4 separate regions of the Homo sapiens genome follow, and all the other regions are linked to region 1. Evidence: promoter capture Hi-C in 16 types of primary human blood cells and fetal thymus (Javierre and others, 2016). All regions are on one chromosome and are shown on one strand. Each heading gives the region's core, a stretch centred on a gene start or on the middle of the fragment in contact. The rest is flanking DNA. Distances are from core to core; before and after follow the strand shown. Region 1 holds the start of UBXN2B (UBX domain protein 2B). Region 2 has its middle 140 kb from the start of LINC00588. Region 3 has its middle 150 kb from the start of LINC00588. Region 4 has its middle 170 kb from the start of LINC00588.

The links. The method cuts DNA at HindIII sites, captures the fragments that hold promoters and counts their contacts. A CHiCAGO score of 5 or more calls a contact.
Region 2: a fragment that was not itself captured here is called in contact with the fragment with the promoter of UBXN2B in region 1 in 1 of 17 cell types (neutrophils); the score reaches 5.8 in neutrophils.
Region 3: a fragment that was not itself captured here is called in contact with the fragment with the promoter of UBXN2B in region 1 in 5 of 17 cell types (neutrophils, monocytes, naive CD8 T cells and 2 more); the score reaches 9.5 in neutrophils.
Region 4: a contact is called between a fragment that was not itself captured here and the fragment with the promoter of UBXN2B in region 1, in 1 of 17 cell types (neutrophils). The highest score is 7.9, in neutrophils.

Annotation. Positions count from the first base shown.
Region 1 is chr8:58,409,891-58,412,774 of GRCh38, forward strand. UBXN2B (UBX domain protein 2B) reads left to right here and starts at 1,471. Exons shown (of 8, transcript NM_001077619.2): 1 at 1,471-1,579. The coding sequence starts at 1,496. RefSeq lists enhancers at 1,467-1,526, 1,537-1,586, 1,867-1,916. The HindIII fragment of the contact is 12,087 bases long and covers 1-2,884 here.
Region 2 is chr8:57,413,954-57,416,837 of GRCh38, forward strand. No RefSeq gene overlaps it. Among named protein-coding and RNA genes, the nearest start is that of LINC00588, 140 kb to the left of the region's middle. The HindIII fragment of the contact is 3,332 bases long and covers 1-2,884 here.
Region 3 is chr8:57,430,676-57,433,559 of GRCh38, forward strand. No RefSeq gene overlaps it. Among named protein-coding and RNA genes, the nearest start is that of LINC00588, 150 kb to the left of the region's middle. The HindIII fragment of the contact is 1,481 bases long and covers 752-2,232 here.
Region 4 is chr8:57,447,496-57,450,379 of GRCh38, forward strand. No RefSeq gene overlaps it. Among named protein-coding and RNA genes, the nearest start is that of LINC00588, 170 kb to the left of the region's middle. The HindIII fragment of the contact is 8,507 bases long and covers 1-2,884 here.

The sequences.
Region 1 (2,884 bases), core at 221-2,720:
ATGCCAAAGCTCGGGCGGCAAGCTGTCGACTCCAGCACCTAGCATGGTGCACACAGCAGATACCAACGGAGTATTTCCCCTCACATGGCTCACATTTCCTTTGTAACCCTCCCAAGCAAAGCTCTACTGCAAGCTGCATCTTACCCGTTTACATGTCTCTTTTCCCTACTAGACTGAGTTTCATAATGACTGGGACTATTTCTTTTTACCTTTGCATCCCTTGGGCATAAAAGTGCCTAGGAGGCCAGGCGCAGTGGCTCACGCCTGTAATCCCAGCACTTTGGGAGGCCGAGGTGGGCAGATCATGAGGTCAGGAGATCAAGACCATCCTGGCCAACATGGTGAAACCCCGTCTTTACTAAAAATACAAAAGTTAGCCGGGCATGGCGGCACGCACCTGTAGTCCAAGCTACTCGGGAGGCTGAGGCAGGAGAATTGCTTGAACCCGGGAGGTGGAGGCTGCAGTGAGCCGAGGTCGCGCCACTGCACTCCAGCTTGGGCGACAGAGCGAGGCTCCGTCTCAAAAACAAAAAGTGCCTAGGATAAGAAGACCAGAGTCTAAATCAATTTCAGTTGAATGACGAGGGCTTGATAGTCTCGAGATCTGCTTTTTTTCTTTTTTGAGACGGATCCTCCCTGTGTCGCCAGGCTGGAGTGCAGTGGCGCGATCTCGGCTCACTGCAACCTCCGACTCCCTGATTCAAGCGATTCTCCTGCCTCAGTCTCCCCAGTAGCTCGGACTACAGGCACGCTCCGCCACGCCCAGCTAATTTTTGTGTATATATATATATATATATGTGTATATATATGTATATATATGTGTATATATATATGTGTGTGTATATATGTGTATATATATATGTGTGTGTATATATATATATATATATATATATATATATATTTTTTTTTTTAGTAGAGAAGGGGTTTCACCATGTTGGCCAGGATGGTCTCGATCACCTCGTCCGCCTCGGCCTCCCAAAGTGCTGGGACTACAGGCGTGAGCCACAGGCCCGGCAGAGTTCTGCTTTTAGCAAATTATTCCAAGCACTTTTTACGGTGTTTTTCACTCTCAGTGCTAATTCACGCTGTGGTGACGATGTACCATCCAATCCTTGATAGGAAAGATCAGAGAATCTGACCAAGACTAGATGGAGAGGTTGCAATTTTTCATCAGATGAAAAATCCAGAGGATGTTTTCATTGTTGAGCTAAATGAATCTGCAAGTCTATGCTGCCCTCTAGGGCGGCCTACAGTGCCTTTAGGCGAGTAGCAGGAGCAACACAAAACTTAACAGAGGTTTCCCTGCGGAGAAACTCCCTTTAAGAAAAAAGGAGAAACCAAAAAGGTGGGCCAGCACCGGAAGCGGGGGCGCGGGTTCGGGTAGCGGGGACGCGCACGCACCTTGCGCGTCTTCGCCCCTCCTGCGGTTGCCAGGCAACCGGCCCCGGAAGTTGCGGCAGGTGCGTCCGCAGCGGGCGCCGCTAGCCAGCGGAAGATGGCGGAGGGCGGAGGCCCTGAGCCCGGCGAGCAGGAGAGGAGGTCTTCCGGGCCGCGGCCTCCGAGCGCGCGGGATTTGCAGGTGAGGCGAGGAGCCGGGGGAGGGAGCGCGGCGGTGGACGCGGGCTGGTGACGGCGCGGGCTGGTGCGAGTTGGAGGCCACCTCTGGCCTCGGCGGAGCCTTTCCCCGACCCCGTCTGGGGATAGAATCCGGCGCCCGGTCTCCCGATGTCGGGTCTTGACACTGTGGTGGTCGTGAACACAAGTGCCCAAGCCTCCAGCGCTGGTGCTTTGTCTCCCTTCCACCCCACGTATGATGTAAAAATAGCTATTCGTTTAGAATGACATTTTGCGGGGTCAGTTGGTCGGTTCACGGGTTGATGCTTCCTTCTTGAGACTTACTCCAGAAGAAAGGTTACTGTGGCCGCAGGGAAGTAGACAGTCACCTGAACAGTAATGATACGTGATTTGTTCTTTTTTGTCTTGGATGCTATTTCTGACTTGCTTACTTAAATATAAAAATGGTTCCATTTTATCAGGTAGGTTTTTCTTTTAAAGGGGTGAAGGAAAGCGATGCACTCTATGCCCATACAGCCTAGTTGTCTAAGCTGTGGTCTTTAAAACATTGCACTGAAGAAACTGGGAAATAAAATTTCGTAATGTTGTGTAGGACACTAGTATTAGTTAGCTAAATAGTAGCGCACCAAATCCCGTTTTATCAGATACTAACGCCACTTTTCTCATTTTAGGCGTTTTTGTGTCTCATTATAAGATTATTGATAAAAATTTGACAAGTAAATATCAGTAAGGAGATACTAAGGAGAATCTTGGTAGAACAGTTTTACTGTATTACTTTACAACCACACTTCATTCTAATGTGAACAAACCACCATCCATTGTAACATACTGCTGAGCTTTGCGAATGTGGAAATAAGGACATCAAATCCTTAGTCGGTGCTGAACTCTATTGATGGGTAGGTATGTAAGTGTAAAAGACAGTTCTACCTTTTGGAAGCCTACAGATTTCTTCGGAGAAATAGGGTATGAATACTTAGCATAACATTTTAAGATGGAGTATGATTGGGTGCCAAAATAAGCAGTGCATAAAGCGAAGAATTTGGAGGCTGGAGAGATCAGTGTAACATTAGGAGGTGAACTTAATGTAGAATAGTTCCAGCTCCCATAGTTGGTTCAGTAGTAGTAAACAGTATCAAGGGATAGGAAGCTATTGTGTACCTCATCTTTCCTATTATAAACCCACATCACTAAGAGGCAGCATGGAGTTAGTAGTCCCACCAATTTTGGTTTGCCTCTTAGTCCTGCTACTTAGTAGTTTTGTGAACTTAGGAGAAATGTCTTAACCTGTCTGATCCTGTGTCTTCATTTG
Region 2 (2,884 bases), core at 137-2,636, 1.0 Mb before region 1:
GTTTTTCTTTTGTTTAAAAGAATTTAAATAAGAGACACACAGCAAAGGAGAGGTAGCATAGTAATTTATTGTAAAAGGAAAAAAATGTATTTCAAAAGTTAGAAAAGACAGTACACTCTGAGAGACAGCGTTTAGGGCAGGCTGCTCGCAAGGATGAGACAGCGTTGAATATTGTTGAAGAAATTCTTTTCATGGGAGTTTTATATGATTATTTATAAGGCGATGGGAAGAAGTGAAGCTCGTAAGCATGTTTTGGGTGGTCTTTGGGGAGCACATGCTCAGTAGATGTACGTGATTGTTTATACATCACATGTCTCATTAGTATCGAAATCTCTACCCAGGAATGTGTTTCTTACTATTATAATGAGCAAAGGGCCAGTTTAAGGACAGGTAAAATCAATGTGTGCATGATCTCTACAGGGGAAATTTTCTACTGGATAGCTTTGTTTGGATGAACTCAATTACAATGTGAATGCTTAGGCTTATTGTGTTGACTGTACAGTCACCATGCTTGTTGTGTCTCAAGGACATTGTCCCTTCCCTGACTACCTATTCTACTCCAATTTCTCCCTAAGAGATTTTAGGGCCCATAATTACATGGGAAGTTGAGGGGCTAGGTCATTTTTTTGGCATTGTTTTTTGTTGAGTGGAGCCTTGTTCCTGCCTAGCCTTGTCCTTAGAGTCTGTTTTTGTCTGGTTTAACGGGATGTAAGCCATGGCATTTATGGGACTGGTAGCAAGATGTGAGATAGCTCATTAGCAGCCAAAGGTTGAAAGTCTTGTAAAACCATCATGTGGACCTGGAATTGTTGTAAGTGAGACAGTAAGGAACTAGCTAGTATTTTAAACAAAGTTGAACCAAAAGTAAAAGTTAAAAGTATGGTGATGACTGGCATCATTACAGGGAGAAAGGCAGACAGTAGTCATGGTTTTTAAGTTTTTATGTAAGGTTTTAAAGATTTAATTTTGTCTGCCTGGGTAATGATATTTAATATTTTTTTTGACTAAACAGAACTGATTGATGTGAAAGCAGTATTTTTAAAAAGATATAAATAGATATAAATATGTTTTTGTCTTGTTTTGTTTTGTTCTTTTTATCTGGCTGTGAGAAGATTTAAGGCTCTTTGGTTTGTAAGATTATAGCGGTCAGGGAGTCTAGCTGTTGTTGAAGTCTAGTGAGGCCCTCTGCTGTATGCCAGAAGGTCAATGTGATTTTTAAAGACAGTTAATGCTAGATTTTTAAGTCTGCTCCTCTGGTAGCTGACCCTGCTAATTTTAATAGAGAGGATAGAACTAACACTAAAGAAATAAAGGGTTTTCCTCGGAGGTGGATCTTGTGATGTTGGTACATGGGGAAAGGAGAGATGTGTCCGTCTATGCGAAAATCAGGGGGAAATGTAAGCAATGGCGCATCATCCCTTCCACTGTGGAGGGAGTTGTCAATATGCTGAAGATTTATAACTTCTCCACATTTTTTGTGATGGTGAAATTTGCGTTGTAAAATATTTTGTATTAAAGTGGTGAAAGTACTGGAGGGTTTTTTTAAAAAAATATTTGTGGTCTATAAATGAAAGGTTTTGTGTATTTAACACAAAACCTGGTAGTGGTTATTAGGTCTATTAATGAATGGTTAAGTTGGATGGTGGCATTAATACATGTTTGGAATAAAGTTTTGTTTTAAGGGTCCCACTACAAGGTGTAGTGATTTTTTGATCGGATATGTTGACAATTCTCAGAAGATATATTGAGATTGGATGGATAAAGGCTTCACATGTGAGCGTTGCCCCAGATAAGCTATAGATTCTAGTTTTGTTGACAGGGAATAGAGGCCATACCTGTTTGGGGACATGATAGAGCAGGAAATTGGTTGGACGAGTGAGTTGTTTATTTATTAGTTTAATTTTTGTAGAGGTATTGACTAAGATAGATGACCCAGTGACAACAGTTCAGCTACACTGACTCTTGAAATTTTCTTACGAAAGTGGTGGAGCTAACATGATTGTTGAAAAGGCAAAAGGGGAATAGTTCTGGATAAAAGATAAAATAAGAAATCTTTTTTTTTTCTTTTGGGACATTTGAACTATTGTTGATAGTTAAGAGGAAGAACTTAAAGAACCTATGACTTGACCCCACAGTTTTTTTTTTTTGTATTAACTATTAGGCCTGATATCCCCATTCTCTGAGGCAGTGAGTTTTTCTCTGGAGATGTGTTGGGATGCTAGGTCAGTCTTTTAAGGGCACAGGTCTGGCATATTTTTAACTTTTTGGTCATGCAAAGCCAACAAAGTTGAGTTAAGTTTAATAGACTGATGGTATGGTTATTTATTTTTCTAGTAGACAGGTCAGTGTCTCTAAAAGCCATTAGAGCATGGCAGGCAAGTGCCAAGAAAATGAAGATGTTATTTATTTTTCAACTTGGCTCCATTTGGGGTTGTTTTTTTGAATAGAAGTTTTCGATCCCCTATGGGCATGCAAGTGTAATTAGCAGCTTTTTCTGGTGTTTGTAAAGGTTTATTGTAAAGTTTAATTTTGGTCCTGTGGACCCGACTAGCTATTTTTTGTAGCTTTACAGCCATTGGTGTGCTAGTAGTACTTGTTAAAGTTTTTTTTTTTTTTTTAATCTATTTAGGAAGAAGTTGATCTGTTGGGGAGCTTTTTCTTTTTAAGTTTTTAATAGAACCCAGTCTCCAGGCAGGATTTTGGGGTTATGTTTTATTTGCCCAAGCAAGGGCAGCATCGTATTGTCATATTTTTAGATGGCTTGTTGTACCTAGAGTAGATTTTGAGTATATTTTATAATAGACTGAGTTTTGGCTTGATTAACAGGTCTAAGGTAAGGAAGGGTCTTTCATCAGTCATTTGAAAAGGACTAAGTTTTGCTTTT
Region 3 (2,884 bases), core at 242-2,741, 980 kb before region 1:
ATCAGTAGGGAATAACAGATTCTTATTTTACCCAATGGTTTATAATCTATTATTAATATTATTGAACTTGATGCTCAACTTTTCCCAGCCTTTGATCGAGAAAAGCTCCTTCAAGCTTTTCCTCATGTCCTTTTAACATGTCCCTAGCATTTCTTTTTTTTTTTTTAGCACTTCTTTGTTATGACATAACAAAGTGTTCAGGGCTTGTATAGCATTTTCCCTACCCTAGCCTTTTTGTTTTTGGAGAAGTCCTGCTTCTTTTTAGTGGGAGACAGTATATAGACATTTGGATACTAAATGTGTGTATTGCTTTTGGGTGTCATTGTTTTGAGGTCCTTTCAGCAGAAAACCTGGAGAATACACACACGTACTCACAAGTGTGACTATGTCTATAATAGTATTTAAAAACCATGCGTTCAGGCTAATACCACCAATTCCAATTCAATGCCACAGGGTTCTTCTTAGCCTTTTGCTATTATGTATTTGTATGTCTCTTCTCAACATCATCAATACATGTACTCATTGCTAACTCCTATGATACATAGGAAGTTGTTCAGAATTGCTAACCCACAACACTGCTAAAACAAACCCTACTAGAGTTCAAGATTTGTCCACAATCAGTTTTTTCTTATAGTCAAAATATTCTGTTCAAAAAACAAATCAGAGTAAATTGATTTTTTAAAAACAAAATTATTTGTGTTAGTTTCCCTCCTCTTCACTGTGGTCATGCTCTCCATTTGAAATACAATTAAGCTTAATTGTTTCATTTGTGTGACCTTTTAGGACTTGCCCCCTTCGATTTTATTGACTCAGTTTAATTTTATTTAATTTTGGAGTATGTAAACATTAATGGGTTCAAAAAGTCCATACTATACAGATATATACTCAAACATTTGACTTTCTCTTCTGTATCCCTTCCAATAAATTCCTGACTACCTCAACAGGCAACCAATCTCATCAGTTTCAATTTTCTCTGTCCTGTGTTTCTTTTTACAAAAATAGGCTAATGGAGCCATACAGAGATATAGGTATCTATATCTATATCTAACATCTATATCTGTATGTCTTTCATACACAAAAGATATATATATATTTATATATATATCTTTTGTCCTTTTATTATTATCCTAAACAACATGTCCTAGAAATGACTTTGTATCAGTTTGTAGATATCTTCCTTATTCTTTTTTTATAGCTGCATAGTGCTCAATTGTGTGGATATACCATCACAGAGTTTTAATGGATTTTTACATCTCATTTGATCCTTGCAATACTCTGTGAAGTAGGAGAATGTGTGTTATTATACTCATTTCATAGTTGAGAAAAATAGATTCAGGGAGGTAACACAGATGAGTATTGACAGAGCGGGATCTGAGACTGCGTCTTAAGTTCAAGACCAGCCCTCCCCTGACTGTGCTGTGCTATTAGTCTTTTTTTTCCAACAACTTTTATTTTAAGTTCTAGGATACATGTGCAGGATGTGCAGATTTGTTACATGGGTAAATGTGTGCCATGGTGATTTGCTGCACCTGTCAACCCATCACCTAGGTTTTAAGCCCCACATGTATTAACTCTTTATCCTTATGCTCTTTCTCCCCCTACCCTCCTGGCCAGCCCCAGCATGTGTTGTGTCCCCCCACATGTCCCTTAGATTTCTTAACCCTCTACGTCTTAGGGTAACTCAGTCTTTGTGGGCTAGTCTGGAACAGTGCCCACTATTTATAACCTGTCTCTATGTTTAATGGTAATAATAATAATAATGTATTCTGAGTTCTGAACAATCACTTTAAAACAAAATTTTGTAAAGTAATCTACATCAGAGTCCTGAGTGTGCTTAAACTTGGTAACTTGGGAAGAGTTAATAAAGAACCTTGTTGTTGCAGGGAAGTAGGAATTAGAACAATAATGAGACACTCTCTCCTAACCATCTGACTGATCAAATTTAATAAGCCTAACTATACCAAGTGTTGTAGAAGATATAAAGAAACAGAAATGCTTGTATACTATTGGTATGCATTTTGTCAATCACTTTGGAGAACAATTTGGTAATAGTCTATACATTTACAGCTATACACAGCTTTAATGTAATAATTAACATATAGTGGGTTTATTAGTGCTTTTAAAAATGAATGAATTTATATATATTTTTTAATTTTCTCAGTTTTGATATCTAATATGGTAAATGTTGATAGCTGTAAGACACATATACAAATCTTGTTATGGTCCTAAATAAGCTTCAGGAGTGTAAACGGGTCCTGAGACAAAAATGTTTGTAAACTGCTGCCCTAGAGAAATGCAGGAATATGGACACAAGGCAAATTGTTTAAAAACATAGTCAGATTGTTGGTGATAGAGAAAGTGCAGACACAAATGTCCATCATGGGAGCATGATAAATGCAGTGCTGTATATTCATACAATGGAATTTCATACAGAAACCAAAATGGAACAACTTGGATAAATCTCAAAAACTGTTGCGTGAACAAAACAAGTCACCCAGAGTGTTGCATAGAATATGATACATTTTCTTTTCTTTTTTTTTCCTGCCTAGTCTGGGGTGCAGTGGCAATCACAGCTCACTGCAACCTCTGCCTCCCAGGTTCAAGCAAGTCTCCCACCTCAGCCATGTAAGTAGCTGGGATTACAGGTGCCCACCACCACATCCAGCTAATTTTTGTGTTTTTTGTAGAGACAGGGTTTTACCATGTTGGCCAGGCTGATCTCGAACATGGGGCCTTAAGTGATCTGCCCACCTTGGCCTCCAAATGTGCTGAGATTACAGGCATGAGCCACCATGCCCGGCTGACGCATTTTCTTTAACCTAAAAAAAATTGCAAAACAATTGTATGCATTGTGAATACATCCATGCATGTGCAATGAAAGCTT
Region 4 (2,884 bases), core at 259-2,758, 960 kb before region 1:
TCCATGGCTACCTCCAGGGTGGAAGGGATGGCCTCCCCTCTGGTGAGAATACAACCCAGGCACCTCAATGTTCATGAGAGGGTTCTCTGCTGCTTACACATCTGGTAACGGGAGTGTATTGATACCCTGTCCGTTACAATATTGCTTATCAGTCCTTCAGCTTCTTGTTAGACACTCTACTTGTGAACTGTCTGAATATGGTTCATTTCGAAAGTCTAGCTGAGACAACTGACATTTGCCAAGGGCCCTGTTCCTCAAAGTTCCCTGAGTTCTATTCATGTGTCAGGTCTAGTCTCGAGTTTCTTCATCACAAAAGCAAAGCCTCGCAGCGTGCCTCAGCTTCATAAGAAACAGTCGTGAGTAGAACTTCTGTGCCTTCTTTGTGAAACTACTGGAGGGACATTGTTCCAGGATGCCAGTCACTATATCCACCCACTTGAGAACTTGCTCGCAGACACCAGAGCCAGAAAACGTTTGCTTTTTGACAGACTAGAGTGTTTCATTTTCTAAGACAATGAAACATATGTAACTGTTGTAGGAAAATCCAGGTTCTTGCCACACAACCAGGAAAGATTAGGCTCACAGACACTTTGAAGGGCGAGGGGGACGAAATGTACTGGGCGAAAAGGAAAGAGGAAAAACAATACAGCAAAGTGAGAGAGGGGTTCCTGTTAACAGGCCCTCATCTCACAGTTTGAATTCCAGGTTCCCACCCAGGAACAGAAGGGCCAGGCTCCTTCTCCTTGCAAACCTGAGAACTTCCCATGGCTCCAATCTGTCCTGCCAGTGCACAGGTCAGTTGCAGAGTCTTCCAGACTGGCAGTTCGGTTTTTCAGCTGTCAAGTGTTTTATGCTTGAAGGCAGGGTTTTGTGAGGGGTAGGCCTTGGCTGCCACCTATCTCTATCATAACCAGTGTGCTTCCCTCTTTGACTTCATCCTCAAGATACTCAGAGCTAATTATGCGCTTATTTGCAGATTTTCTCAGCCCGAGATTTATTTCTCTTCTTTCTTTCTCTTTCTTTCTTTTCTCTTTCTTTCTTTCATTCGTTCTTCTTTCTTTCTTTTTCTCTTCCTTTCTTTCTTCTTTCTTTCTTTCCTTCCTTCTTTCCTTTCTTTTCTTTCTCTCTCTTTCTTTCTTCTTTCCTTCCTTTTCTTTTCTTCTTTCCTTCTCTTTTTGCCTTCCTGCCACTGCCTCCTCCTCCTCCTCTTTCTCCTCCTCTTTCTCCTCCTCCCCCTCCTCCCCCTCCTCCTCCCCCTCCTCCTTCTCCTCCCCCTCCTCCTCCTCCTCCTGCTCCTCCTCCTCCTTCTTCTTCTTCCTCTTTCTCCTCCTCCTCCTCCACCTCCTCTTCTTCTTCTTCTTCCTCTTTCTCCTCCTCCTCCACCTCCTCTTCCTCCTTCTTCTTCTTTCTTCTTCTTCCTCTTCTTCTTTTTAACAACTTTTTTTACAGCCAATATCTGGAGAAAACACTTTTAAGAAAATGTTAACAAATAGATATAGTAATTGATATAAATGTAAAAATACATGTTTCCTTATAAAGGGAAAAATAACCAGAAGAAGAGATAAAATCTTTTAAATCAGTTTTACACAAAGAATATTAAAATTTTGACAATAAAAGTGATCTTATTTAAGAGGATTCAGTTTACATCCTTTTCTAGGATCAACCAAATGATTAATGTCAAATCCCCATGCATAAATGAGTTTGCATAGTGCATAATTAAGAGTTAATGCATTTTTTCCTTACATTTTCCAAAATTATAATAAAATTGTATAACATAGAATTTATCATCTAAGCCGTTTTTATGTGTATAGTTCAGCAGGGTTAACTGTATTCACATTGTTGTGCAACTGATCTCTAGAATTTTGTCATCTTGCAAAACTGAAACAACAACTTCCCAGTTCCCTTTCTTTCTAGGTTTTGTCTACCACTGTTCTTTCTTTTTGTGAGTTTGACTACTTTAAATACCTCATATAAGTGAAATCATATAGCTTTTGTCTTTTTGTGATTGACTTTTTCACTTAGTGTAATGCCCTTCACCTATGCTGTAACATTTGACAGCATTCCTTCTTTTCAAAGGCTGAATAATATTCCAGTGTATGTATATACTACATCTTAAAAATCCATTCATCTGTTAATAGACATTGGGTTGCTTCTACCTTTTGGTTAATATGAATAATGGGTCAGGGAACATGGGTGTGCAAATACCTTTCTGAGGCTCTGTTTTCAACTATTTGGGATCTGTATCCAGAAGTGTGATTGCTAGGCCAGGTGGTAATTTTATTTTTAATTTTTAATATTTTAGAAACCTTCATACTGTTTACAATAGCAGCTGCACCATTTTACATTCCCACCTACAATGAACAAGGGCTCTAAGAGCTAATTCATTTCTTAAGGCCTGTTGCTTGTGTCTTGTGACTAGGAATACATACATGACCACTTCCAAGATTACCCCAAGCCTGCCTGTGTCACCACTTCCAGCACATGAAAGTGTACCCTGTTATCTCAACAGCACAGCAGGCATTGGATCATGCTCTTGGAGAAGCAGAGAAATGGGAGCTTGTACTGGCATCCAGTAGGCCCCCAGGGGGCTGAATTGTGCTTTCTTTTTTCAAGGAACAGCTTTGTTCTCATTTGGAGGACCCGGAATATACAGCAATATCAACTCCGCCAAAGAGAGAGAGTCCCTGCTGTGTGCTCTGTTCCATGACAGGCATAAGAGTCACATTAGTGGCAGCTCACGTCATAATCAGGGATCTTAACAGTTGCCTCCAGATGTGCCCAGCTGGGTTACCCCCTGATTCTTCCATAATTGGACAAACATACTAACAAACTCAGATAGAGGTTTAATAAATAAGATTTTTCTTACAACTTTAGGTCTGTAAGA